Linked DNA regions of Homo sapiens: all the other regions are linked to region 1. Evidence: promoter capture Hi-C in human tissues and cell types (Jung and others, 2019). All regions are on one chromosome and are shown on one strand. Each heading gives the region's core, a stretch centred on a gene start or on the middle of the fragment in contact. The rest is flanking DNA. Distances are from core to core; before and after follow the strand shown. Region 1 holds the start of FAM227B (family with sequence similarity 227 member B). Region 2 has its middle 9.4 kb from the start of ATP8B4. Region 3 overlaps ATP8B4 (ATPase phospholipid transporting 8B4 (putative)). Region 4 overlaps GALK2 (galactokinase 2). Region 5 overlaps ATP8B4 (ATPase phospholipid transporting 8B4 (putative)). Region 6 overlaps ATP8B4 (ATPase phospholipid transporting 8B4 (putative)). Region 7 overlaps GALK2 (galactokinase 2).

Region 1 (3,682 bases), core at 642-3,141:
CTGCCTCGACTGTGAGAAAATCATTGCAAATGATTTTATTGCAAATGGGGTTATTTAAAATTTTTAAAACATACTTGTTAACATCAAATATGTGCAAGGAAGTACAATTTGAGTCATGGGGGCTAAAAAGACTTAGAAAACATAAAGACTGTTCCTAAGGAACTAACAATTTTAACACCTTGATGGTGCGTCCATCATTCTGGAACTTAAGGCTAAAAATACATTAATTTTTTATTCCTCCTTCTACCCAATTTCCACCCCAAATTAATTATACTCACCAAGTTGCATCTACCTTGTATATAATCCTCTATCTTCACTCTCAAAGTCAGGATTCTAATTCAGTTCCTTATTAACTCATAGATGGGCCACAGCAATGTCTTAAACCTCTTTGAGTACTTATTATTAGTTCCACATATTTGACATGGAAAAATGCATTTATTGTGGAGGTACTTTAGTGAATCTATCCCCTCCAGCATTCAACTCTGTAAGAGCAGATTCCTTCCCTGATCTCACCTATTCCTGATTCTTATGCAACAGCAGGAACTCAACAAACACTTGTTAACTAAATCAAAACCATTCTGCAAAACACATCCAGTAAGCATCTCACTACTGAAGTATCTGACAAACTACCTTTATGGGCCGTCTGCAGCCTAGCACAAGTGGCAGGCTGGCAATTTTTTTTTCTCCAAAATAATAACAAAAAGCTTCTACCTCTTCCATTATTGTAAGCTGACTCACCTCCCAATGGAACACTATACAGACTCCCCTGTCCTATATTGTGGACCAATTCAGTATTAGAAAAAAACCACTTCCAATTTTCTTTAGAGTGTTTTTAAGAACTTGGTCACATAGGACCTACAGGTCCAACATTCATTTTTCATAATCCAAGGTAGTAGTACCCTTTTTCATATAGGATCAATGGCCTCTCCCACACCACCCGCCATATGGTAACAAACTGTCTTGCCTTCGTTTTCATGGTGCACTGGGTTAGTCCTTACATGCTGCGATCTACAGTATTGATTTTACCATCCAACTTTGTGGGCCTGGCGACTGAAAATGTTAATATACTTCCTTATTTGTCCTACATTCCCAATAAATAATTTAGACGTAAGAAACAGGCTCTTTTGCTTATTATGTAACCACAACCTCAATATTTTAAATACACTGCATGGCATCACTAATTCTACGTCTGTACTACGCTTCCCCTTCCGTGATAACCAAACCCCCACAAACCACTCCAAATACTAAAAATAAAATAAAATAAAGTATGGGGTTCCTAGGGAACTGACTTTGCCAGGACATACTTTTCGTTGGGGCGGAATGCACCGAAAATCATTGGTAGGAAAAATAATTTTTTTTTTGAGGAAAAATTTGGAAACCTTTTTCCCAAAGGGCCCGCAAGATCCTAAAAAAAGCAAGAGACCGCGCAGAAACCGAGGATCCCCCTCACAGGCGACACCCAGCGCGACCTCCGCTAGGGTCCTGACAAAGAATGTCCACTTCCCGCGGCCGCACCTCTGGGGCCAGACCACTGGTCTCCAGAGAGGCGCGGGGACCTCCACCAGGGATCGGAGTGGTACTCAGACCTGCACACCCGCGAGTCCTCGAACAGCTCCACACGTCTCCAGCTCCGCCCGAGCCCGAGCCACGCGCCGGGCCGTGATCGCGCACGGACCAGACGGAGCGCTTTCCGGGAGACACCAGAGGGAGGAGCCAGGCAGTTACTAGCGTCGTTGCTAAGGCAGGGGCCGCGCACACCGCACACCGCGCGGCTTAAGCAACAGGCTGGGACGACAGCGGGGGGGGGGTTAGACGGGAAGTTCCGCCTCAGCCTCTCAATCAGCGGCGGTGTCGCACTTCTCCCGAGAGGCTCCGGCGAGGGGCAGGGCCGCGTTCGTCCGGGACCCGCCTCAAGCCTCGCAGCCTTTCACCCAGTTTCCTCCCGATTCTTGCTGGGACAACAAAATTGGGAAGCGGTTCTCGAAACATACTGTCAAGGCGTAGTTGCAGTGAGTTGTGAAGAAATGTTGATCCCAGAGAAAAGTTTGCATTTTGCCCACCTCAAAGATATTTTGATTGTGAGAACTTGGTTACATTAGTCTTTCGTGGCTATATCAATATCATTATTTCGTGTGCTGTGTGGTAATGAAAGCTATTAGAAAAATCATTTGTATCTTAATGATTTAGTTTGCATAAAAACACGCATATAGAGTTAAGAGTACTTTGTGTTTTTCCACTTTGAAGTATAATATGTGGATAAGTTATTAGAACATTTGTCCGTGCCTCTCCCCAAACAATGCGCAAACGGAAGTGCACTCTAACAACTAAGATTTTAAAACACAATGGTCAAATGTTGAGCAATGTTTTATTGACTACTCTGAATTTATCAAGTGGTAGATAAAGGACATTACAATGCCCTAGAAGTGCTCACGATATCAAGTAAAGCATGTTAAATTCAAGTACAGAAAATGCAATATTCTTACTACTGAGATAAAAAATGGAATTTAATAAATTACAGGAATTTCAAGAAAGCTGAGAATGGAGTGGTCAATAAAGGCTTCTTTTTCGGACTTGGGTAAGGCCTTGAAGAATGATTTAGGTTTAGGACAGTGTTTTTCAACTGGAAAGGGGATTGTGTGGGACCCATTAGTGGAGGTCTTGACCCATTTGTAAGCAAGGAAATCTCTTTAAACTTAAAAAAAAGAAACAATATAGATTGGAAATATCAGCGCATGTAAGTAAATTTAGTGTTAGTTAGTAAAGTACTGCTTTATGGAGCTTTTAATTGTATATATGCGTGTATGTGTGCACTAGGGCTTGTTTGTAAAATGTATTTCTTACTGTATTTCAAACCTTAAAAAGTTTGAAAGCCAGTGATTTAGGGAGAAAGGTGAATTTTCTGGGTAGGGAAAGTAGAATAGCAAAGTCTATAAGCCAAGAAGAATTCACAACCATTTTCCTTTTTAGTTTAACTCTAAATTTTATCAAAGTAGTTAAATTGCACAGATTAAAAAGCAAATAATACTACTTGTTAGATTGAGCATTGGGTTGCTATCGTATGTAATAAATTACTCCAAAATATGGTGGCTTAAAACAACCATTTTATTATGTTCACAGGTGGTGTTGTCAATAGGGCATAGTCATCAGCTTTTCTTTGGTAACTCAATTAGAAAGACTAGAGTGGGCATGCTAGCAGAGCTTCTGTAACTATATGGCCGGGGTTTCCTCACAGTATGGCAGCAAGGTAGTCAGACTTCTTAGCTTAAACTCAGAGCTCCAAAGGGAGTGTTGCAATGAACAAGGCAAAAATTGCCTGACCTTTTCTGACCTTGCCTCAAAAAGTAACGCGGTGCTACTTCCCCCACTTTCTTTTGCTTACAAATGTGTCAAAGTCCTGTTCCATTTTAGGAAAGGAGACATAGATCCCTCTTCTCAAAGGATTGGCAAAGATTTCTTGTCCATGTTTTAAAACCAGCATAGTGAATTTACTTCTGTAACAGAAAACCCCAAAATATCGGTGGTTTAATACACTTTTTTTTTTCCTCACAAAAGATCCATTGTGGCTATTTCTAGGCAGACGAAATGTTAAATTCAAGGCCAGATGTTTTTATTTTTAATGGTTCTGCTGCCTTCTAGGACTAGCTTGTTTGACAAGAAAGAAAGTATGGCAAATTACCCAAGG
Region 2 (3,682 bases), core at 347-2,846, 510 kb before region 1:
AGAAGTTGAGTGACTTATATAAGAATACTCAGTTACTCACCAGAGCCTGGGTAATCTTATCACAGGAGTCCTGGGCTCTTACATTCTGTGCTAAGCCCAGTGCTACCAGTGGGAAATTGAGTTGCTACCCTCAGGTATTAGAGACCCAGACAAGTGGACAGGTGTGATTATAGCAAGGCAAGTGCCATGATGGGGAAAGGCAGCATATCATGGGAGCCCAGAGAAGCTCTGATTTCTTAAAATTCTCTGAAGAGGGTTCCTAGAGGAAGTGAGAATGCAGTTAAGACCTGAAAGATGTGGAAAATTTAGCCAGGTAAACAAGGCAGGGAAAGGGCATCTATGCAGGCTGTGAAAAGGCCTCAACATTCATATAGAGTAGAGAACCAAAGAAGTCTAGTCTGGCCAAGTGGTGGAGACCTCTAGATCTCTTTATAGCAAATGAAAATCTCCCTAGTACTCTACCATGTAATTTCTTTTCTTTTCTTTCTTTTTTTTTTTTTTTTTTTTTTTGAGTCAGAGTCTTGCTCTGTCACCAGGCTGGAGTGCAGTGGCACCATCTCGACTCACTGCAGCCTCCGCCTCCTGGGTTCAAGCGATTCTCCTGCCTCAGCTTCCCAAGTAGCTGGGACTACAGGCACGTGCCACCATGCTCAACTAATTTTTGTATTTTTAGTAGCGACGGGGTTTCACCATGTTGCCAAGGATGGTCTCGATCTCTTGACCTAGTCTACCACATAATTTCAATACTGGCCATTAATTAAAATCCCCTTTTGCATTTGTGCTGCATTGAATAGTGTGGCCCAAAATTCATGTCTACCTGGAATGTTGGAATGTGGCCTTACTTGGAAATGGAGTCTTTGCAGATGTTAAGATTGAGGTCATATTTGATTAGAATGGAGCCCAAATCTAATCATGTCCTGATAAGAGGGCCATATAAAGACATGAAGAAACAGAGAAGACGCACAAAGGGCATGCCATGTGTTGATAGAGGGAGAGTGTGGAGGGATGGGTCTACAAGCCAAAGAATGCCAAAGATTGTCAGCAAGTACCAGAAGCTGAAGAGAGGCATGGAACATATTCTCCCTCAGAACCTCCATAAGAAACCAGCTTTGCCAACACCTTGATTTTGGTCTTCCAGCCTCTAGAACTGTGAGAGAATCAGTTTCCCTTGTTTTAAGCCACCCAGCTTGTGGTACTTTGCTATTCCAGCCCTAGGAAACTAATACAGCGTTCTTGATATGAATTTGACTCCTCAAGATAACAAGAAAAAAAAACAGATTGCATTTAGTGATGGACATGAGGTAGCTGGGGTCACAATTTACTCACACTATTACCTATATGCCCTAAAAAATGTGGCTACTTAACTTTTATTTATTTATTTATTTTTTTGAGACGGAGTCTCGCTCTGTCACCCAGGCTGGAGTGCAATGACGCGATCTCAGCTCACTGCAACCTCCACCTCCCGGGTTCAAGTGATTCTTCTGCCTCAGCCTCCTGAGTAGCTGAGATTACAGGTGCGCACCACCAGGCCCAGCTAATTTTTGTATTTTTAGTAGAGACAGGGTTTCACCATGTTGGTCAGTCTGGTCTCGAACTCCTGACCTTGTGAGTTCTCGAACTCCGCCCACCTTGGCCTCCCAAAGTGCTGGGATTATAGGCATGAGCCACTGCGCCCAGCCTACTTAACTTTTTACAAAGGATCTGTCCTTTTTCACTAACTCACACACTCCAAAGGGTAAGTAGGGAAAAATAATCCCCAATAAACCTTCCACTGATCAATTTACCAACCACAGTCTTTTCCAGTTCAAATAAGCTTTTGATTATTTAGTCTTTTTTAGGGCCTTTGGGTGTCCCTCTCCTCTCCTGCTTCTCTCCAGAATGGCATCACAGAGAACCTGTGTGACTCTGTGACAGTAGAGGGAAGTGGGAGCCTTGGATCCATGCCAGGTCCTCTGGATTCTCTTTGCACAAGCAGATCTTGTCATTTTGGCCCAGGCCTTGCCCTTCATCAGCCACAAGGAGGCAGGAACATAGCCTCAAGCATCTGCAGCCACCTTTCTCCTCCAGTGTTCCATACTGCTCCCAGCTTTGCTGGATCTGATGCTCTGATGGAGAAGGGCACCCTTCAGACCCAAAGGAAATGGGTGCTTAGCCTAGATTTTCCATGTGACTCCAACTCTCTGGATGTTTCTAAAGCCAGCTCCCTCTTGAAGTTTAGCTCTGAAGCTAGGAAAACCCAGGACTCTGGTGTCTGTCTCCATGATTCCCCTTCTTTCGCTGGTCTCTGGCATGACTTAACTCCATAAGTGTTCCTCCTGCTTTTCTGGGGTGATATTAATTCCTTCTTTCCTTGACAGACTGGATACAAAACGAAACACTGGCTTACTCAAAAGAGAAGCTCTGAAGGTAGCACCTTCCTTACCCTGAAATGCACAGAAACATGGGGTTGCACAAGAAGTAGCTCCATCATCTGCTCATCTGCTGTAGCTCCTGGGCCTTGAGACTGGGGCACACTCTACCTAAAGATGGCTCAGCATTGGTGGGGATGTGTGCAGAACCACAGTGAGGCACACCTTGGTATTGTTCATCTGAAATTAATATTTCTTCAAAGACAGACCTTACTGGTGTTTGTTCCTCTCCCTATGTATAATGGGATATCTCTAGAGGACAGGATGGTCCTAGAGCTGCCTTGAACAGTTTTATCTCCCTCCTGCCATCCGATGCTTTAACCTCCTGCTCCAGTGCAGTCTTCTAGTTCTGTAGGATCAATTTCTTTGCAATCGGTATTATAGCACAAGCTGCAGCAGTTTATTTATCTAAGAGAGAATGCGTCTAGGTTGCTATCCTCAGAGATAGTGTGTATAAGGCAACATTTGAGGCCTCCATGACTCAATTCTTGCCTAATCTTTGCCTGGTCTCTGATCCATTAGGACCTAGAAATTACATTGACTGATATACTGAGATGATGGCAAACTCACCTTTGCTCTCCACATTCACGATTGCTGTGGGATGTATGTTTGTGACTCACTCAAGCCATTTAGAATGGAAGCCCAAGTCACAGTAGAGGAAGGCCATTGTTACTGAACTGAACATGGGTCAGTTAATCTGCCTGCCCATGCAGCAAAGCCAAATACTAACACTGGGATTGATTTGCAGTGAGGAAAAGTGAAGCATTTATTGCAGGGTGCTATGCAAGGAGAATTGGGCAGCTAATCTTAAAACCCAAACCCCTTGATGGCTTCCATGTAAGAGTTTTTAAAGGCAGGGAGGCAGAGGTTCCAGGCAGAGCCATAAATCAATACATGGAGGCTATTGGTTTGACCTAAAAAGGGGGAGACATCTTGAAGTGGGGGTCCACAGGTTACAGGTAGATTCAAAGATTTCCCGATCTGCGATTGGTTAAGATTTGTTTAAAAACTTGGGGTCAGCAGAAAGGAATGTTGAACTCTGGCCTGTAGGTATAACTTCTGCCAGGCCCCTCAGGAAGAAATTTAGAATGAAGAACAGTGGTCAGATTTCAGTCTCCAGTTCCCCCTTCCCCAAGGTCTGTTGTGCCAGTGGATGGTGTTTTCCATTTGGTGGCGGGGGGGTGTGGGGGCTGTGGGCAGGTTTCTGCAAAACAGCTCAGGGACATATGTTAAGATGTTATTTTTAGTTTCTATTGGGACTCTAACTTCTTTGG
Region 3 (3,682 bases), core at 777-3,276, 440 kb before region 1:
AAGATTGAGAAATGAAAAGATTACATAGAAAGAAGAGTAAGTTACTTGTGAAGAAGGAACTATAAATGGAGTTTCCTTTGTTGGCAAATGGTTCATGAAAATAATCCATAAATCAACTGTGTGGATGAAATTGGGCAAGTTTAGTAACAATTGAGAGGTTAACGGAAAAAAACCACTAACCCCAACGGTCTCAAAGTGGTTTTTATCTTGTTTTGCAATCTTCTTTACTGGACCAAATGGTCTGGTTCTGGGAATCTTATTGTTAAAAGATGGTAACAATCATGTTTTACATTTTGTTGTTGAAAGATCAAATCATTTATGTACCAAGGTGATCTTAACTTCATGTCCACTATTATGAAACTAGTACCAGATTACTGTCACATTTTACACCTGATTTTCTATGTAGTTTCTTTTTTTTGACAAATAAAAATTGTATATATTTATAGTACACAACATAATGTTTTGAAATATGTATAAATTACAAAATGGCTAAATCGACCTGATTTACATATGCCTTATCTCACATAACTTATCATTTTTTTATGATGAGAACACTTAAAATCTACTCTCATAGCAATTATCAAATGATATGATTTGGATCTGTGTTCCCACCAAATCTCATGTCGAATTGTCATCGCTAGTGTTGGAGGTGGGGCATAGTAGAAGGTGACTGGATTATGAGGGTGAAGTTCTTATGAGTGGGTTAGCACCATCCCCTCGGTGTTGTTCTCATGATAGTGACAGTGAGTTATCCTGAGATCTGGTTGTTTAAAAGTGTGTAGCACCTCCTCCCTCTCCCTTTTGCTCCTGCTTCAACCGTGTAAGATGTGCCTGCTTCCCCTTTGCCTTCTGCCATGATTGCAAGTTTCTTAAGGCTTCCTCAGAAGCAGAAGCCTCTATGCTTTGTGTACAGCCTGCAGAACCATGAGCTAATTAAACCTCTTGTCTTTATAAATTACCAGTCTCAGGTATTTTGTTATAGTAGCATGAGAATAGACTAATACATCAAGTATACAATTTGCAGGTTTATTACAAAAGTAAGCTACTTAGGCATTAAACTTGAAAATTCTTTAAAAATGATCCAAGACTTGGGCTATATATTTGTCAATAAATCTGTGTCTATTGCATGACTGTGTGCACGGAGGTAGTGTTGTAGTTGTGAGGAAGTGTATACAGTTTTGTAAGGATGTTTTTGCTTGAATAATGAGAGACTGTTCTCAGAGGAATTAAGCAGAGGACAGCAATCAGAGTCACATGCCAAGACTGTTGATCTAAATCTCTAGCTCCTGATACCCTTGACTTGGTGTCTCTAGCAGTCCTGATTGTACTGGGTTTTATGTGTCCTCCTTGGTTGTCAGTTCACATCATTACAGATGTGGCTGTTCAGGTGTCATCTAGGTAAGTTATAGATGGTGACATCATTGTGTACCAATTGTCCAAAAGTTTAGGGAAGAAGGGCTTTTTTTATACAAAAGGAAAAACCTGATTTCTTAGGTACTGCAAGGAAATTAGCTTCAGTACAATACACTGTGGAATCTCAGTGTGGAATTATCCTTTAAAGCTTTTCCATTCAACTCTCTTTACAGAATTCTAACCAACTCCATGTCCTGTCTGTGCTTTTATCCCTTTAGAAGAGGGGACCTCATTACCTCCCCAAACAGCCTTTTCTTTCTTTGGGTAGTTTTAATCATTAGGTAATTTTTCCATCAATTGAGCCAAATTGATATTCTCTTGCTTTATTTTCCATTGTTTTAGCTTTTCTTCAGAGACCAAAGCAGAGCAAACATGTCTTCTGTTTCATGCAACAACACTTCAGATATTTGTGTTTAAAATATCAAACACAAATTCATCAAATAAACAGATCTCCAGGAAAATCACCTGCTATTCCTTTTCTTTTCAAAGAGCCTCAGTTTTTCTATAACTTCTTCAAGTGGGTTCCTCCAAAGTCAAACACAATAGTCTAGAATTTATTTGACCATCTTGAAGTAGAGAAAGATTATTAATACAGTCTAAGACTGTACTATCTTTTCAGTGACTGTTGAGTCTATTAATCTCATATTAATTTTATTTTTATTGTTAATGACAAGAACCGTGTCACATTTATCTCCATATCTTGCTTGTCATAGGGCTTGTTGGCACATAATAGGCACTTACTCTGTCATTAAACTATTCCTTTTATTATTGTATCTATGTGGACTTTAGCATCTCTCTGTATTGTCATTGATAGTTAAACAAATGGGCCAATGAAATCAGAAGCTTTAGGGGTGGAGTCCAGGCATTTTTTTTTTTAAAGCTCCCCTAGTGATTCTAATGGGCAACCTGGATTAATCACTGATCTAAGTTAATAATAAAAATACTGAGCACAACACAATGAAGAACATGGCCATGCGTCTTATCACTAGAGACCTCCCTATAGGTTGCTGTTGGGCCATTAATCATTACATTTTGTTTACTTAGCTAGTTCCAATTTCTATAATGAACTGTCTTTGCTGGCAGCCCAATTTTTGTTTAATTATGTAGTAATATTGCTCTCTGTCTTAATAAGCAGAAAGGCTTTTTTTTTTTTTAAAGACATCTATTATAGTGCTGGTTTAGATTATTTCTACATGTATGGAAGCAGAAGGATAGAATGAATAACTGAACTTTGAAGATTCCTCCCCAAGTCATATTCCTATGATTCTTGCAAACCACTTAGTACCATGTGTGATATTTCAAAGACTCTTGTAGATTCAATACCACAAAAACGCCATTGTCCTAAGAAAGACGATTTTGAGGTTAGAAGCACAAATGAGCTGAACTTCTTTGCAATGCTTTGCAGAAAAAGAAATGCTTTTCTAGGTGAGAAAATGAGCTAAAGGAATATTTGATTTTTTTTCTCCCTTGTACTCTGATATGAGAAAATTAATAAACTGCATGTTGTGCTAAATAATGTGAAAAATCTATATTTGTGCTAATGCCTATCTTTCTCTGGCAAAAGAAGTTCTATAGGTTATGTACTGAAAATTATTGTGATGCATCATTAATTATGAAAAATTATATTAGCTCATGTTATTTTCTCATAAGTGGAATTGTCTTCCTCTCATATATTATTTTGTATTTTTTCCAATTGGGTTTATCAGCCATGTTGTCTTGGACTGTTCTTGCATTGCCATAAAGAAGTACCTGAGACTGGGTAATTTATAAGAAAAGAGGATTAATTGGCTCAGTTCTACAAGGCTGTACAGGAAGCATAGCAGCATCTGCTTCTGGGGAGGCTTCAGGAAGCCTCCAAACATAGTAGAAGGTGAAGGGGGACCAGGCACATCACATGGTGAAAGCAGGAGCAAGAGAGTGAGTGGGAAGGTGACATACACTTCTAAATGACAAGATCTCACTAGAACTCACTATTGTAAGGACAGTACCAAGGGGGATGGTGATAAGCCATCCCTTAGAAACTGCCCTCATGATCCAATCACCTCCCACTAGGCCCCACCTCCAACACTGGAGATTACATTTCAATATGAGACTTGGGTGGGGACACACATCCAAACTATATCACACGTATTGAGTAATTCTTGCTTATCACTTTGTTAAATGCTCTAGACACTTAAAAACGTATAAGGTCTCAGCCCTTCAGGAACTCTTGGAATTTTGAGATTATTTCACATGCATAAATGAAATAACAGTATTAGACATTACAAAG
Region 4 (3,682 bases), core at 848-3,347, 410 kb after region 1:
AAAGTTAAAATAATATCAAGTAACTTCTCTGATCATAATGAAATAAAATTAGAAATAAACATGAAGAAAAACTTTGGAAACTAAGCAAACACTTGGAAAGTAAAAAATATGCTCCTGAATGACCAGTGGGCCAATGAAAAAATTAAGAAATTTTTAAATTTCATGAAACAATTGGGAGTGAAAAGACAACAGATCAAAATCTCCATGATACAGAAAGAGCAGTACAAAAAAGCACATTTAAAACAATAAACACCTACATCAAAAAGGTAGAAATATGTCAAATAAGCAACCTAAAGATGAATCTTAACAAATGAGAAAGGCAAAAGCAAATGAAATGCAGAATTAGTAGAGGAAAAGAATTCGGATCAGAGCAAAAATAAGTAAAATTGAAATTTAAAACTACAAAAAAAAATCAATGAAATTAAAAGTTGGTGTTTTGCAAACATAAACTAAATCAAAAAACCTTTAGCCACACTAAGTAAAAAAGAGGCCAGGTGCACTGGCTCACACCTGTAATCCCAGCACTTTGGGAGGGGAGGCCAAGGTGGGCAGATCACAAGGCCAGGCGTTCAAGACCAGCCTGGCCAACAGGGTGAAACCCCATCTCTACTAAAAATACAAAAATTATCCAGGCATGGTCGTGGACACCTGTAATCCCAGCTACTCGGGAGGCTGAGGCAGGACAATCACTTGAATCTGAGAGGTGGAGGTTGCAGTGAGTTGAGATAGCGCCACTGCACTCCAGCCTGGGCAACAGAGCGAGACTCCATTTCAAACAAAAAAGAAAAAGTAAAAAATAAAGAAGATTCAAATAAATAAAGTCAGATAATTTTTTTTAAAGATATTATAACTGATAGCAGAGAGTCAAGGCATCATTAGAGACTATTATGAGCAACTATATACCAACAAATTAGAAAACCAAGAAGAAAGGGATCAATGCCTAGACCCATATGATATGGCTTGGATCTGTGTCCCCACCCAAATCTCATGGTGAAATGTAATACCTAATGCTGGAAGTGAAGCCTGGTGGGTGTTGATTGAATCATGGAGGTGGTTTCTAATGGCTTAACACAATCTCCTGAGTGTGGTTCTCATGATAGAGTTCTCATGAGATCTGATCATTTAAAAGAGTATAGCACTTCCCCTCCCTCTCGTCCTCCTGCTCTAGCCATGTACGGCGTGCCTCCTTCCCCTTTGTCTTCCACCATGCTTGTAAGTTTCCTGAGGCTTTCCCAGCCATGCTTCCTGTACAGCCTGCAAAATTGTGAGCCAATTAAACCTCTTTTTTTAAATAAATTATCCAGTCTCAGATACTTCTTTATAGCAGTGCAAGAGCAGATTAATACAGAAAATTGGTATCAGAAGTGGGGCATTGCTATAAAGATACCTGAAAATGTGAAAGCACCTTTGGAACTAGGTAAGTGGCAGAGGTTGGAACAGTTTGGAGGGCTCAGAAAAAAGATAGGACGATGAGGGAAAGTTTGGAACTTCCAAGAAACTTGTTGAATGGTTGTGTCCAAAATGCTGATAATAATATGAACAATGAAGTCCCAGCTAAAGAGGTCTCAGATGAAAATACAAAACTTTTTGAGAACTAGAGTAAAGGTCACTTTTGTTATGCTTTAGCAAAGAGTCTGGAGGCATTGTGCCCCTGCTCTGGGGACCTGTGGAACTTTGAACTTGAGAGTGATGATATCTGGTGAAAAAAATTTCTAAGCAGCAAAGCATTCAAGATGTAGTCTGGCTGCTTCTAACAACCTATGCTCTTATGCATAAGCAAAGAAATGACCTGAAACTGGAATTTATATTTAAAAGGGAAGCAGAGTGAACAAGTTTGAAAAATTGAAGCCCAGCCATGTGGTAGAAATGAAAAGGCCGTGTGTGTGTGTGTGTGTGTGTGTGTGTGTGTGAGTGTGTGTGTGTGTGACAGCCAACATTGGGAAACCCCGTCTCTAGTAAAAATACAAAAATTAGCCAGGCATGGTGGCACATGCCTGTAATCCCAGCTACTCAGGACGCTGAAGCACAAGAATCACTTGAGTCCAGGAAGTGCAGGTTGCAGTGAGCCAAGATCGTGCCACTACACTCCAGCCTGGGCAACAGGGCGAGACTACATCTCGAAAGTTAAAAATAAAATAAAATAGACCAGGCACGGCGACTCACGCCTGTAATCCTAACACTCTGGGAGGCCGAGGCGGGTGGATCACCTGAGGTCAGGAGTTCGCGACCAGCCTGGCCTTCGTGGTGAAACCCTGTCTCTACTAAAAATACAAAAAATTAGCCAAGCATGGTGGTGGGTGCCTGTAATCCCAGCTACTTGGGAGGCTAAGGCAGGAAAATCACTTGAATCTGGGAGGCAGACATTGCAGTGAGCTGAGATCGCACCATTGCACTCCAGCTTGGGCAACAAGAGCAGAACTCCATCTCAAAAAAATAATAATAATAAAATAAAATAAAATAAAATAAATCAGCCACTAAAAAAAAAGGTAGAAATTTTGCATATAAACAACCTAATGGTACATCTCTAGCAAAAACAATCCAAATCCAAAATTAGTAGAAGGAAAGAAATAATAAAGATCAGAGCAGAAGTAAATTTGAGACAAAAATTAATGAAATGAAAAGGTAAACATAATAGCAAATCTTTAGCTAGACTGAGAAAAAGAGAACACACAAATAAATAAAATTAAAAAAAACAGAAAAGGAGACATTACAAGTGACACCACAAAATACAAAGGATCATTAAAGCCTATTGTGAACAACTATTATGCCAACAAATTGCAAAACCTAAAGGACATGCATAAGTTCCTGGACACATAAAACCTAAGAAGATTGAACCAGGTAGAAATAGAAAACCTGAACGCACCAATAACAAGTAACAAGATTGAAGCAACAGTAAAAAGTCTCCCAACGAAGAAATGCTCAGGACCAGAGGGCTTCACCCATGAATTCTACCAAACCTTTAAAGAAGAACTAACACCAATTCTTTTCAGACTTGCAAAAAAATTGAAAGGCGGGGAATTCTTTGAAACTATTCTATGAGGCCAGCATTATTCTGATACCAAAACTGAACAAGGACACAACAGAAAAAGAAAACTACAGGACAATATCTCAGTTGAACATATAATCAAAAATCCTCAATAAAATGTTGGCAAAATGAACCCAAGAGCCCATAAAAAGATTATATACCATGATCAAGTGGGATTAATCCTAGAAATGCAAGGAAGGGGTTCAACATACACAAATCCAAAAATACGATATATCACATCAACAGAATGAAGGACAAAACCCATATAATCTTTACAATCAATTCAGAAAAAGCATTTGATAAAATTCAACATTCTTTCATGATAAAAACTCTTAACATACTAGGTACAGAAGGAACATGTCTCAATACACAATAAAGGCCATATATGACAAACCCATAGCTAATGTCATACCAAATGAGGAAAAATGGAAAGCTTTTTGTCTAAGCACTAGAACAAGACAAGCATACCCAATTTCACCACTCTTATTCAAAATAGTACTGGAAGTCTGAGCCAGAGCAATCAGGCAAGAGAAAAATGTAAAGGGCATCCAAATTGGAAAGGAGGAAGTCAGATGGTCTCTACTTGTACACAACATGATCTTATACGTAGAAAAACCTAAAAACCATAAAAAGCTTTTAGAGCTGATAAATTCAGTA
Region 5 (3,682 bases), core at 491-2,990, 410 kb before region 1:
AAGAGCTGTGAGATGAGGAAGCCTGGGAAATATAATTGAGAGTGATACTGAATATTGTAGAAGGAAGGTAATGGACTCTAATGATGGAGAAAGAATAGATTTTGAAGATGTGAAGAAAGTTGATGGTATTTTCTAATGGAGAATACAGTAAGTCCTCACTTAACATTGCTGATAGGTTCTTGGAAACTGTGACTTCAAGTGAAACAGTATACAGTAGGTCCTCAAATAACGTTGTTGAGTTCAAAGTCATTTCATTATAGCATGGGTGAGGAAAAACTTGATTTTGTTACATTTCATTACACTTAAAATCATAGTTTTCGAGGACCTATCCACGACGTTAAGTGAGAACTTACTGTCTATGGTGCAATAAAGTACATTTTCCATAAGCTTAGCATTCCTTCACAATAAACACTTACTGGATTTTAAATTTGCTTAATGTCCAGTGTTCAGTCCAGTATGATGGAGTTGCAGGGGGAAAGAAAAAAGTTAAGTATTGAGAAATGGAATTGAGTTTGGAGAGGGCTTCATGGAGGAGAGCACACAAACAGCAGTGGAGATTTAAGGGGCTCTGTTGGCAACGGGACGAATTTCATTCAGATAATCTAGCTGGCTCAGTGTCAATCAGCATGTACTAGGGCTTCCTCAGGGATATGATAGAGGTTTTATAGGAACATTGAGAGTAGCAGCAGGGATTCATGTTTTCCATCCATCCATCCATCCATCCATCCATCCACCCATCCATCCCATATTTAAATAACACTTCTGAGTACCAGCCACTGTGCTAGATGCTACGGACACATGGACTATTAGGACCCATGTCACTGCCCTCAAGGAGTCTGGGGTCTAGGGGAAGAGATGGACAAATAAACAGACTCTTATTTGACAGCAGTAGGTGCAAGGAAGTATGAGGTGCTCCAGGTGCACTGGGTGCTTTGGGTGCACACATATGGGGTAGGGATGGCTAATACTAGTTTTGGAGGGCTAGTGGCAGGGATTTCATTGTCTCAGAATAACCCTTGATAGAATTGGCCCCCCAGCAAAGGTCAGCCATTGAACAGCTAATGGAATGGTGGGGTGAGAGGGTGGGGAGAGCATTGGAGAACCCAGGAACAGTTCAGGCCATAGAGGATTACTAGGTCTTTACAGGCTTATTGAAGAGGGAGGCTGAGAATATGCTGGATGAAAAATGAGCCCAAATCCACCATCTCCTGTCCCTCCAGTTATGTGCTCTGGTGCAATGTGGTCCGTCACAAGTACCATCTTCATATGCAGGCTACTCATTGTAAGACTCTTGGGCAACACAGCAGTGAGAACCTCTGTTGTCTTTCTACCCCACAAGGCAGGAAGGCATTGGGAAAAGTCCACTAGCCTGGTGTCAGGAGGCTGAGGTTCAGTCCTGCTCTGTCATGAATTGGCTACATGACTGAGGACCAAGGACTTGAGTTTTCTCATCTATGAAACAAAGATATTGGATACCAGTCATTTTCAAACATTTCTTTTTCCAATAAGCAGAACCCTTTTCAAATGAAATCTTATGTATAGTGCAGTTGCTCAGAGCAGGTGCTCTCGGCTGCCCTCTCACCCTTTATGGTAGATCTTGAGGAGCCTCCACAAGCATCACAGCACTGGTCAGTACTTCTGCACATGAGGTCTGAGGACCACCTGCATCTGAATCACCCAGGTGCAGATTCCTGGGCTCTTTCCCGGACCTCTTGAATCAAACTTTTTGGGTCTGGGACTGAGGACTCTATTTTTAATGAGCACTTCATGGGATTCTCATGTACATTGAAGTTTGAGTACCACTAGGCCAGATATTTCAAGGTTCCTCTCAGGCTTTAAGTACAGTGACTCTGTGATCCTCTTCAGCTTTGGTGTGATGGTGAGGAGCCAAAGAAGGGGAGTCAGTGACTCCACCTGATAAAAAGATTTAACAGCAAATGGAATATTGAAAGTATGAGGATGGATTTGATAGTAATAGTAGTAGAGATGACAGTGGAACAAGGAGGGTAGGATCTGAAAGTTACAAAATGGATTAGGTAAGGAAGAAGAACTTTAATCATCGGGTCTTCCAACAGTGGAGATAAATTGTATTCCAGATGGAAGAAATTGTAGCAAAAGGTGTCAGGAGACAATTCAAAGCATGAGGCTACTAGGGTAATGTCCTGATCATATTCCCACCATCTTTCTTTGTCTTGATAATAGCACTCTATTATATCATGACACATAGTATCATAATGGTCTCCTTACCTTTCATTTACTTGTCAATCTTTATTGAGTGAATCCTGTGTGCCAGGCATTGAGCTATATTCTGCAAATGCAGGTCAACCCAAACAGACATGTTCTCTGCAATCACAGAGCTTAGTGTCTGGTCAGGGAAGTAGATAATAAAATAGCCATGCTAAGTAGTGTATAATTACAAACCAAGGCAAATGCTGCTAAGGAAAAGAGTGTGGTTCTAAAGACAGGTATTTTTTTGTGGGGGTTGGTAGAGGTGAGGTGAAGCAGTTTAGGAATGGATTCTTTAAGGGAGTAGTACATTTGAGCTGAAAACATAATGATGACTAGGAGTTAACTAGGCAAAGGTGGTAATAGGAGTTGGAGCAATGGGATGAGAAGAATTCCAGAGGGAAAATCATGTGCAAAGGTCCTGTGGAGGGGAAGGAGGATGGTGATTATGAGGGACTGATTGGCAGAAGTCCAGAGAATAAGGCGGAGAGAAGAGCAGGGGCAGACAGGGCTGGAGAAGCCATCAGAGGCCAGACCCTGCAGGGCCTTCAAGGCTACATTAAGAGTTTGGGTCTTTTTCCTCATAACAGAGAGATTGTGTGGAAGGGTTTGTCTTTGGAAAATCTCATACCTGCTGCATGGGAAGAAGCTAATGCAGAGGGGTCAAGATAGATATGGGGAGAGGCTAATTGCCTATTGCTATACTTGTCTGTCTGTTCCTATTACTGCTGTGACTTACTTGAGGCTGAGACAATCTCCATATTCCCATGCAGTTGATACGCAATAATTACATGATAGTGGGCAAAATGCACTAAAGTGAATTAAATAAAGCCTCTTGGGGCAAAAGCAGAATATATTTTAGACTCCTCTTTTCTTCCCTGTAACTAATATGGGGCAAGGAGAAGTATTCATATATTGTGTGTTTGTGCACATCGCTGCTGGCTATCATTGCACTTGAGAGTGTGAGGTCCTCGGATACCAAGCCCATCTTTACCCTAGTGTTCTGTGTTATTGGGAGTCTCTTGGGCACTGCTGGAAATTAACATGTATGGGACAGTGTCTGACACTTAAGGAAAGGGAAGGATTTAGGTCTGCCTGGACTTCATTTCTTAATTAGCAGAGCTCAAGATATGATTTGAAGCAATGCTTACTGTTTCATTCGCAGCTGCCCCCAGGTTGCAGCAAGTTGGACAAGCAAAAATGTGACAGGCAGCCCTAGACACCCAGTGGAGAAGCAGAAATAGACTTGCTGGGGTTTGCAGTGGACGTTTCCCTTGCAGCGGCACTTTCTGAATTGCCTGGACGACGAAGAGTATTCACCCAGCTGTCCTCATCTGTTACCTTGCCCCTTTCCAGGCATTTATGTTCTTACATGCTTTCCCCTTTCACACTGCTAAATTTAAGGCTTCATTTTCAAATCAAATGCTCATCTGGCTGGCTGCCTGAGAAATCACAT
Region 6 (3,682 bases), core at 639-3,138, 360 kb before region 1:
TTTCTACCATTCTTTCTGCCCTAGGAGGCTTATTTGTATGGTTTATACTAATAGGTTACCTTGTACTTCTGCTTCTGGTTGGGCTTTGTCTCGGGGATCCCTAGGAAGAGATCAAAAGGAAGAAGGAGATTACGATCAAGGTATTTACTCCTCCAGGCTGCATTCTTGTGTGCTAACTTCAGGCTGGCCAGATCTATCAACAGAAGGCCACTCTTACTCTAAGGGCTGCAAATTCCTGTCACCTCTTTCCCTTAGGGTCCAGTAGCCATTCCTTCCCTTCATCCCTTCTGGCTCAGGTGGAGAAACAGCTTGCTTGCTACATGCCCTTGGTTAATGCACTAACCTTTTGTTTCCCCTATAATCCCACCTATGCTTTTTGTAAAGAGTTCTTTTATAAATAAAACTTCCTCCAATTCTCTTTGTTCAATGTGTCATCTATTTCCTTTTAGGATCCTGAATGAGACACAGTCTTAAATATTGGTTGACTATTTCATATAGTTTTAGAAAATAGTAAAGACCAAGAACTTTAGAATTACTTATGTCGAGGTTCAAATTCTCGCTCTGACACTTACTAGGTGAGAAATCTCAGGCAAGTTCAATTATTTAAACTCAGTTTCATTATTAGTGAACTGAGGATAATAGTACCTAATTTGTTAGTTTGTTGTAAGCATTAGCTGAGATTATAGGTGAAATGTAGATGTTCAAAAAATTAATTTGCTTAAAATACTTACAAATTATTTATTGAATGTCTACTATATGCTGGGCATTATGCTACTTACTCATTGGGGATTAAAAATGTGAACAAAAACAAATGCAGTACCTTCACTCATATGATTTTCAGTATGGTAGGAGAGAGAAAGAGGCATTAATCTCAAGCCAAAATCATATCAATGGCCAAGGCCCTGTGGCAGGAGTAAGGAAAGTGAGGTCAAAAAAGAAGGCCAGTATGGGGTATGGAGAGCACAGAGGATAGGGATGGATATGGGACTGGAGACATGGATAGGGGCTAGACCATGCTGGTAGACCTTGTGGTCAGTATCCAGAAGTTTGGTCTTTATCCTAAGAGCTTAGGGACGCCATTGTAAGTTTTCAAACAGGTGGGGTGTATATGTGTTAATTGTGAAAAGCTTAATCTTGCCAACACTGTTTGTAATGTTTGTAAATAGACAGCAGGTCCTGGGGTTGGGAAGGAGGAAAAATATTGGTTAGTTTTGGGGGCAGAGTGGATACAGGGAGACAAAGTTTCTAGGTTTTCACAGTTGAGAGGTGATGGTCCCTCAGATTAGGAAAGGAGAGGGAAGTAGATAAATTCAGAAGGCTTTTAGAAAGTTTAGAAAGTTGAATTGACAAGCTTTGATGACCAGGCTTGAAGGTGAGGATGATAAAGTTATCAACTATGACTGAGGTTTCTTCCAACCTTCGCAACTGGATGGATGGTGATGATGCTCACTGAGATAAGAAGCTTGGAGGAAGATTGTAAGCCAGATTGGACAAGGGCCACTTGAGAGGCCTTAGAAGAATCCAGGTGGAAATATACAGGCAACAAAATACGTAGGTTTAAATATATAGATTTAAAGCTCAGAGGAACAGCATGAGCTGGGGATACACATCTTGTCTATATTATTAAAACTGTTGGTCTCAAAGCTACGGTCTTAGGTGAGATTGCTCAGGGAAGGTAGATTGAGTAAGAAGATAAGGTGACCTATGCCTGAGTCTTAAGGATTCTCAGTCTTTAGTAGCTGGGTAAAGGGAAGGGAGAGTAAGTATCATGGAAGACAGGAAGGGAGCTACCAAAGAGGTAGGAAGGAAAGCAGGAGAATATTATAACACAGAAGCTAAAGGAAGAGTATGTTTCAAAAGGATGGAATAGTCAACAGTGTCAAAGGTTGCTGAATAGTCAAGAAGTTATGGAGGATATTGATGATAACACCAGATCTGTTTTGGCGTTGTGATTGGCCCAGAGACTGGGTTGAGTAACGAGTGGGAGATAAGAAAACGGAGGCTGTTGAGTGTAGAAAATTCTTTCAGGATGTGCATATAAACATTTGTGGTTATATTTACATAAATGCTTAATAATCCATAAAAAGGATTCCTTATTAGTCTGTGTGCATTTGTGTGCCTAATGGAATGTACATTTTCAGCACCTAACTGGTCTTTTCATATTTCAGTTTTTAGCAACCACAAACTTTATGTGTGTATGTGTGTGTGTGTTTTTTTTAAGCCTACAGCACCAAATATCCCCAGTCTCCCATCTAAGTACTAACCAGGCCTGACCTGCTTAGCTTAGCTTCTGAGATCAGATGAGATCAAGTATGTTCAGGGTGCTATGGCTACAGACTATTTGGCCTTTGTGATCTTTACCATAAAAGAAATATTTCCCACCCTCAATGTTCATATGATTTTAATAAATGATTCTGAGAAAATGTGGGTGGTCTATACACAGCAGTAGCTAGGAATAGGATACTGCAGTACAATTTCCAACTTAAGACAATGAATTGTTATGAAACCTCAATTATTGCTTCTTTTTTTCTTTTACATAAAGAAAAGTCTTTTAAGGATGTGCCTGTCCTTCCCTGACTTCTGGAGTGGTATATAATTTTGGGTGTGCCTCCCTTTTCTCCTTTCTTTAATTTCCCCCTTTCTCCTATATTAAATGGCTCTATGGATTGAAAATCATGAGGAGAATATGTGAAGAGGAAACACTGGAGAAATTAGCTTTAATTAAAACTTAATTGCTTCTATTTAGCATTTTCTCTGTCCACAAGGAATTTCTTTAACAATATTTTTCAATATTCTTATTTGTTTATCATCTAATAACCCACTTCTAAAGCAGTTGATTATATTCTTAGAATTCCTGGAACAAGGCACTTATCATGGGATAATGTAATTACCTGAAATAAATCTAACACAACATTTAAGACAGTTCTTGTCTTTACAAAAATTACATATTACATACGTGCAGTATACAATACACAATAAAGGTTTAAATTACTTGCTGATGTATTTTGGGGGGCTATTCTAGTTTCTCCTTCAAAGGGACCTCAAATCTTTTTGGGAAACAGATCTAGAATTTGATTTATTTTTCCATTTTTTACCTTAGTGTTCTGAATTGTGTTTGTTGCTGCATTATTTTTAATATTTCCAAATTATTCCTCACTTTTGTTGACTTTGTTATCTTTAACTATGTCAAACTAGAAGCATATTCATGTATAGACATTGAAAAAATAGCTTCACTTAAACCTTTCAACTACAAGTTCTGACTGTATTTATCCTAGTCTAAGAAGATCACATCTCTTGCAGCTTCCAGGATTGTTGTTAACCTAATTGTTGAGAATCATGTACAACTTAATGGCCCTTGCTCTTAATAAAAGTTAAATTATTGTGAAAAATATATATTTTTTTCTTTCAGAGACATTTGATATGAGCATTAATAAGAATACATAATCATATCATTTCAAAGTTATTTACTTTTTTTTGTTTTTGCAGGTCCTGACACTAAACTAATGCAGAATAGTGGTAAGACAAAGTTTAAAAGGACAAGCATTGATAGATTGATGAATACTCTAGTACTATGGGTAAGTTACAAAACTAGGCAATATCACTAGTCATTGTTATCTTAGTACATTTACTGAATCTTGCTGGGAATTCTTTAAGAAGCCTACATTCTCCTTGTGGAGTTTGT
Region 7 (3,682 bases), core at 689-3,188, 340 kb after region 1:
AATAAGTGATGATGGGACCGATGGAAAAATATAAGGTCTGTGAAAGACTGAGTTCAATTTCAACATGCTCAGTTTGAGAGGTCTATGATTCATTCAAGTAAAGATGGTCAATAAGGCATGGGATATAGAGGTTTGGAGCTCAACCAAGAAAGCCTTAGTTGAAGATGTTTATTAGGAAGTCATCATCATAGAGATGGAAGTTGAAGCTGAGGGCATGAGACCAACAGAAGAAAGACCACTAGAAAGAAGAAGACGACCAAGGCCAAGGCCTTGAAGAACACCAACATTTAAACATCTGTGGGAGGAGGAGTGAATTCCTGCCATCCCTTCATCCCTGCCCAGGGTGGGTCGGTGGAGGGAATGGCTAAAACTAAAAAGAAATAGCAACAAAAATATAAGGGGGAAAAGAAAAAACAGGAAGTGAAGTATACTGGAAACCTAAGGAAGAGAATATTTCAAGAGGGAAAGACTGGTTAACTCTGTTGAAAGATAAGAAATAACAATGAGAAATAAGATGAAGACTGAAAAGCATCCACTGGATTTACCAATGAAAAAACCTTTGGTGGCCTAAGAAAGAGCAAATTCAACATTGTGGAGAACGCAGAAGTGAGATTTTAGTAAATTAAGGAATAAGAGGGAGGTAGAGGAGTAAAGATAACATATATAAAGCAATTTTTGAGAAGTTTAGCTGTGAAGAGAATGAAAAAGTAGAAATAGAAATAGTAGATGGAGAGAGTTGTGAGGCTTAGGGTAGACTTTTCTAATACAAAATACTAGAATAGGTGGAGTCTGATAGAAAGGATTTAGTAGAGAAATAGAGGCGAGGAACAAGTTAAAGATGGAGTGAGTTCCCTGCAGCCACACATGGAAGGGCTGGCTTTGACAGGAGATGCAGATATAGAGAGACATACAGATATGATGACAGGAAGCCAAAGTCTATGTGACCACATCTATTTCCAACATGAAATATGGGAGAAAATCACTTTTGGAAGTTAGGCTGAATCAAGTAATGGGTATTTGAGAGAAGTAAAGAAGGTATGAAATTATTACTACTGAGAAAATAGATTTCAGGCTGTATTTAAGACCTGGTAAAGGTTGATCATAAGTCTTAGGTGATATCCATCAGTATCCATCAGGAGATCAAAGCAAGAGTGGAAGAAAGCACAGTGGAGCTCCTGACCCAGAATCCACTTCCTAGCCTCCAGCCTCAGTCCTCTCTCCAACTTTCTAGTCGTATTATGAGCTATTCTGGATTATTTATAATATTTAATTACTGTGTCACTTGTTGGATCACTGGATTACTTACTATCTGATCACATATTAACCATTTCCTGTTTCATAATCCCTTAACTTGAACTCTTAACTCTACTGTCCACTCTCTCTAGTCCCATGTCCTATGTCCCTTTGTATATCTTCATGCCGCTAGAACTACAATAGCTAGTCAATGAATACTACCTAAATAGATTTAAGGTTTAACTGTGGCAGTTTTCTAAAGAGAGACTTCCAAGACTCCCTGCTGGTTTGTGTTTCCCTAGTAGACATGTAAAAATCTTCTTTCTGGGTACGGGGTCTGGGGGGACTTCACCAATCCTGTATTTTTGGAGTAACGAATGATAACCCAATAAAAAAACTGCATCTTAGAGGACCAGGAGGGGTGAGGCTGCCATCACTTTTGTTGAGGAAACAAGACCAGCTGTGGTCATTCCCATCAATTGTCCCCAACTATCTTTCTCCACCCATAGACCTAACCTATAATTCTGCTTCACATATATAAGCTGCCCTTTTCTTCCCAGTGCCACCCCAGAAGACTCAACTGGTTCATCTGTCTTCTGAGTTAGAAATCAGATTTCTCTGTACCCAAAGACCTTCAGTTGGAATGCTGTGCAGTCAGAATGTTGCCCTAAAATTTGGGGAAAGAGATAAAGTAATAGAGAACAATGAAAATAAAGACAAGAAAAACCCTACTTCAAGTTTCACTAGCCTGCCAAGTTCATACCTTCGCAGCCAGCCGACACTCCATCACCCTGATATTGAAATGGGAAGTTGCTGCCTTATTCATCTCCACACAACTGTTGGCAATCACAAACACTGCTCCACTTGGGAGTTTTACATCGGTTGCCCTCAGAGGACTAAATTCTATCAACTTGGCCTGTTAGAAGAAAAATGAAAGGAGAAATATAATTTATTAGAATGCAGAAAATGTTCAAGTGTTTATGTATTTATCTTAAAGTGTTTTGTCAAAAATGCATTCATTCATTCAAATATTACTTATTGACCTCCAGGCGCTGTACTAGGCACTGGAAATACAACAGTGAACAGGAAAGACACTGTCATTCCTCTCATAGAGCCCGCAATCAAGTGGGAAAGACAGTCTAGTAGACAGACAAATACCTTTCCAAGTTGTGTTACAATGGTAGCAAAGCACAGATGCTATATGGATACATAGCTGAAGCATCTCATCAGTACAGCCTACTGTAGGTTCCACTCAGTTGAAAAAGAGAAATCTAAACTGAGTTCTAAAAGATGAAAAAAGTAGGGCAGACAGAGGGTTTCTTTCCTCAAAAAGCATGTCAAGAAGAGGGAAGAACTTAGGCAAGTCCAGGGGCAAAAAACAACATGGAATGTTAATGGAGCTACGGGCATGGAAATTTGGTTAGAGCTTACAGTTTGAGGGGTGAGAAGTGGTGAGAGGTTAGGATAGAAGGGTAAAGCAGGGGTCAGATGGTGAAGTGTTTTGTAAGCCCAAAGAACTTAGACTGTGTTCAGACTCTATAGCTAACTTACATTAACATCAGGACTCTGGCCCTCATGTCTGCCTGTTGCGTCTCATCCAAAACACCCAAAGTATTTTCTTAGTATTAAAACAAATTTCCTCATGCCTCATGTCTTTGGCTTAGGGGAATCAATAACAAATATTCTTACTAAGAAGGAATCCAGGTGTTCTTGGAAAATAGCCAAGCCTGTAGGAATCTGATGAAAAACTAAGAAAATGTTTTAAAGAAATGTTTGCTCTATTTTGGAAATGAGCAGCTTATGAGCAACAACTAAAACCTCTGCTCTGCCTAAAGGAGTTGATAGCCAAGGGGAAGCGGTATCCAGCTAAGGAATTCATTCCTGGCTTACTGGCAACATTCTTTTTCCCACCACTGAAGCCCCAAAAATGTTGACAGGAAAAATGATACCAAAGAGTAAATTATAAAAAGAGGGACTGTGAATATATGTGGTAAGAGAACTATGATTTGGGTTTAAAACCAACAAGAGATTATAAAAATGCATGAGATGAAGTGATTTAGGATAGGAGCAGGAAATGAGGTTCCAATAACTAGGGAATTGAGAAAGCTCATCTTAACAATGAAGAAAAATAGAAGAGGGGAAAAAGCTAGACACATGAGAAAAACAGACCTGAGTATCATTCTGGAAGCGTAAGAGAAAGGCAATCAACATGAAATAGAGTAGATTAACTGGTGGCAGCCTTGAGTTACAAGCAGTTGGGAAATAATATCCTACAATAGAGCCTAATATAGTAGGCTGTCCATAACCAAGCATCCTGGGGCTCTCAGGGCCTTCTTCTCCATGTAAATTTTCCCACTAGGAATTTCTGAATGGTTCCTACTTGGAATGCTACCTACAGTTCCTTCTTCTGCAAGAAATGATATAGACTGGTCCATGCCTCCTCCTTCAG

What was found. Contacts are between HindIII fragments. The study calls those that stand out against the background at their distance.
Region 2: a contact is called between a fragment that was not itself captured here and the fragment with the promoter of FAM227B in region 1, in 1 of the 25 tissues and cell types used here (mesenchymal stem cells).
Region 3: a fragment that was not itself captured here is called in contact with the fragment with the promoter of FAM227B in region 1 in 3 of the 25 tissues and cell types used here (IMR-90 fibroblasts, lymphoblastoid cells and mesenchymal stem cells).
Region 4: a contact is called between a fragment that was not itself captured here and the fragment with the promoter of FAM227B in region 1, in 1 of the 25 tissues and cell types used here (hippocampus).
Region 5: a contact is called between a fragment that was not itself captured here and the fragment with the promoter of FAM227B in region 1, in 3 of the 25 tissues and cell types used here (lymphoblastoid cells, mesendoderm cells and small bowel).
Region 6: a contact is called between a fragment that was not itself captured here and the fragment with the promoter of FAM227B in region 1, in 2 of the 25 tissues and cell types used here (IMR-90 fibroblasts and mesenchymal stem cells).
Region 7: a fragment that was not itself captured here is called in contact with the fragment with the promoter of FAM227B in region 1 in 1 of the 25 tissues and cell types used here (thymus).

What each region holds. Positions count from the first base shown.
Region 1 is chr15:49,619,027-49,622,708 of GRCh38, reverse strand. It overlaps FAM227B (family with sequence similarity 227 member B), which reads left to right and starts at 1,891. Exons shown (of 16, transcript NM_152647.3): 1 at 1,891-2,009. DTWD1 (DTW motif tRNA-uridine aminocarboxypropyltransferase 1) reads right to left here and starts at 1,661. Exons shown (of 5, transcript NM_001144955.2): 1 at 1,587-1,661. RefSeq lists an enhancer at 1,430-1,549. The HindIII fragment of the contact is 10,713 bases long and covers 241-3,682 here.
Region 2 is chr15:50,126,775-50,130,456 of GRCh38, reverse strand. It overlaps a transcript of ATP8B4 not described here. Among named protein-coding and RNA genes, the nearest start is that of ATP8B4, 9.4 kb to the right of the region's middle. The HindIII fragment of the contact is 3,153 bases long and covers 20-3,172 here.
Region 3 is chr15:50,061,971-50,065,652 of GRCh38, reverse strand. All of the region lies in intron 3 of ATP8B4 (ATPase phospholipid transporting 8B4 (putative)), which reads left to right. Among named protein-coding and RNA genes, the nearest start is that of ATP8B4, 55 kb to the left of the region's middle. The HindIII fragment of the contact is 3,550 bases long and covers 252-3,682 here.
Region 4 is chr15:49,209,202-49,212,883 of GRCh38, reverse strand. All of the region lies in intron 2 of GALK2 (galactokinase 2), which reads right to left. Among named protein-coding and RNA genes, the nearest start is that of GALK2, 41 kb to the right of the region's middle. RefSeq lists a silencer at 985-1,185. The HindIII fragment of the contact is 4,469 bases long and covers 1-3,682 here.
Region 5 is chr15:50,024,431-50,028,112 of GRCh38, reverse strand. All of the region lies in intron 6 of ATP8B4 (ATPase phospholipid transporting 8B4 (putative)), which reads left to right. Among named protein-coding and RNA genes, the nearest start is that of ATP8B4, 93 kb to the left of the region's middle. The HindIII fragment of the contact is 4,438 bases long and covers 1-3,682 here.
Region 6 is chr15:49,981,099-49,984,780 of GRCh38, reverse strand. ATP8B4 (ATPase phospholipid transporting 8B4 (putative)) reads left to right here. Exons shown (of 28, transcript NM_024837.4): 11 at 3,487-3,575. It also overlaps the pseudogene RNA5SP394. Among named protein-coding and RNA genes, the nearest start is that of ATP8B4, 140 kb to the left of the region's middle. The HindIII fragment of the contact is 3,413 bases long and covers 182-3,594 here.
Region 7 is chr15:49,282,033-49,285,714 of GRCh38, reverse strand. GALK2 (galactokinase 2) reads right to left here. Exons shown (of 10, transcript NM_002044.4): 6 at 3,630-3,682; 7 at 1,997-2,149. Among named protein-coding and RNA genes, the nearest start is that of GALK2, 110 kb to the right of the region's middle. The HindIII fragment of the contact is 4,823 bases long and covers 1-3,682 here.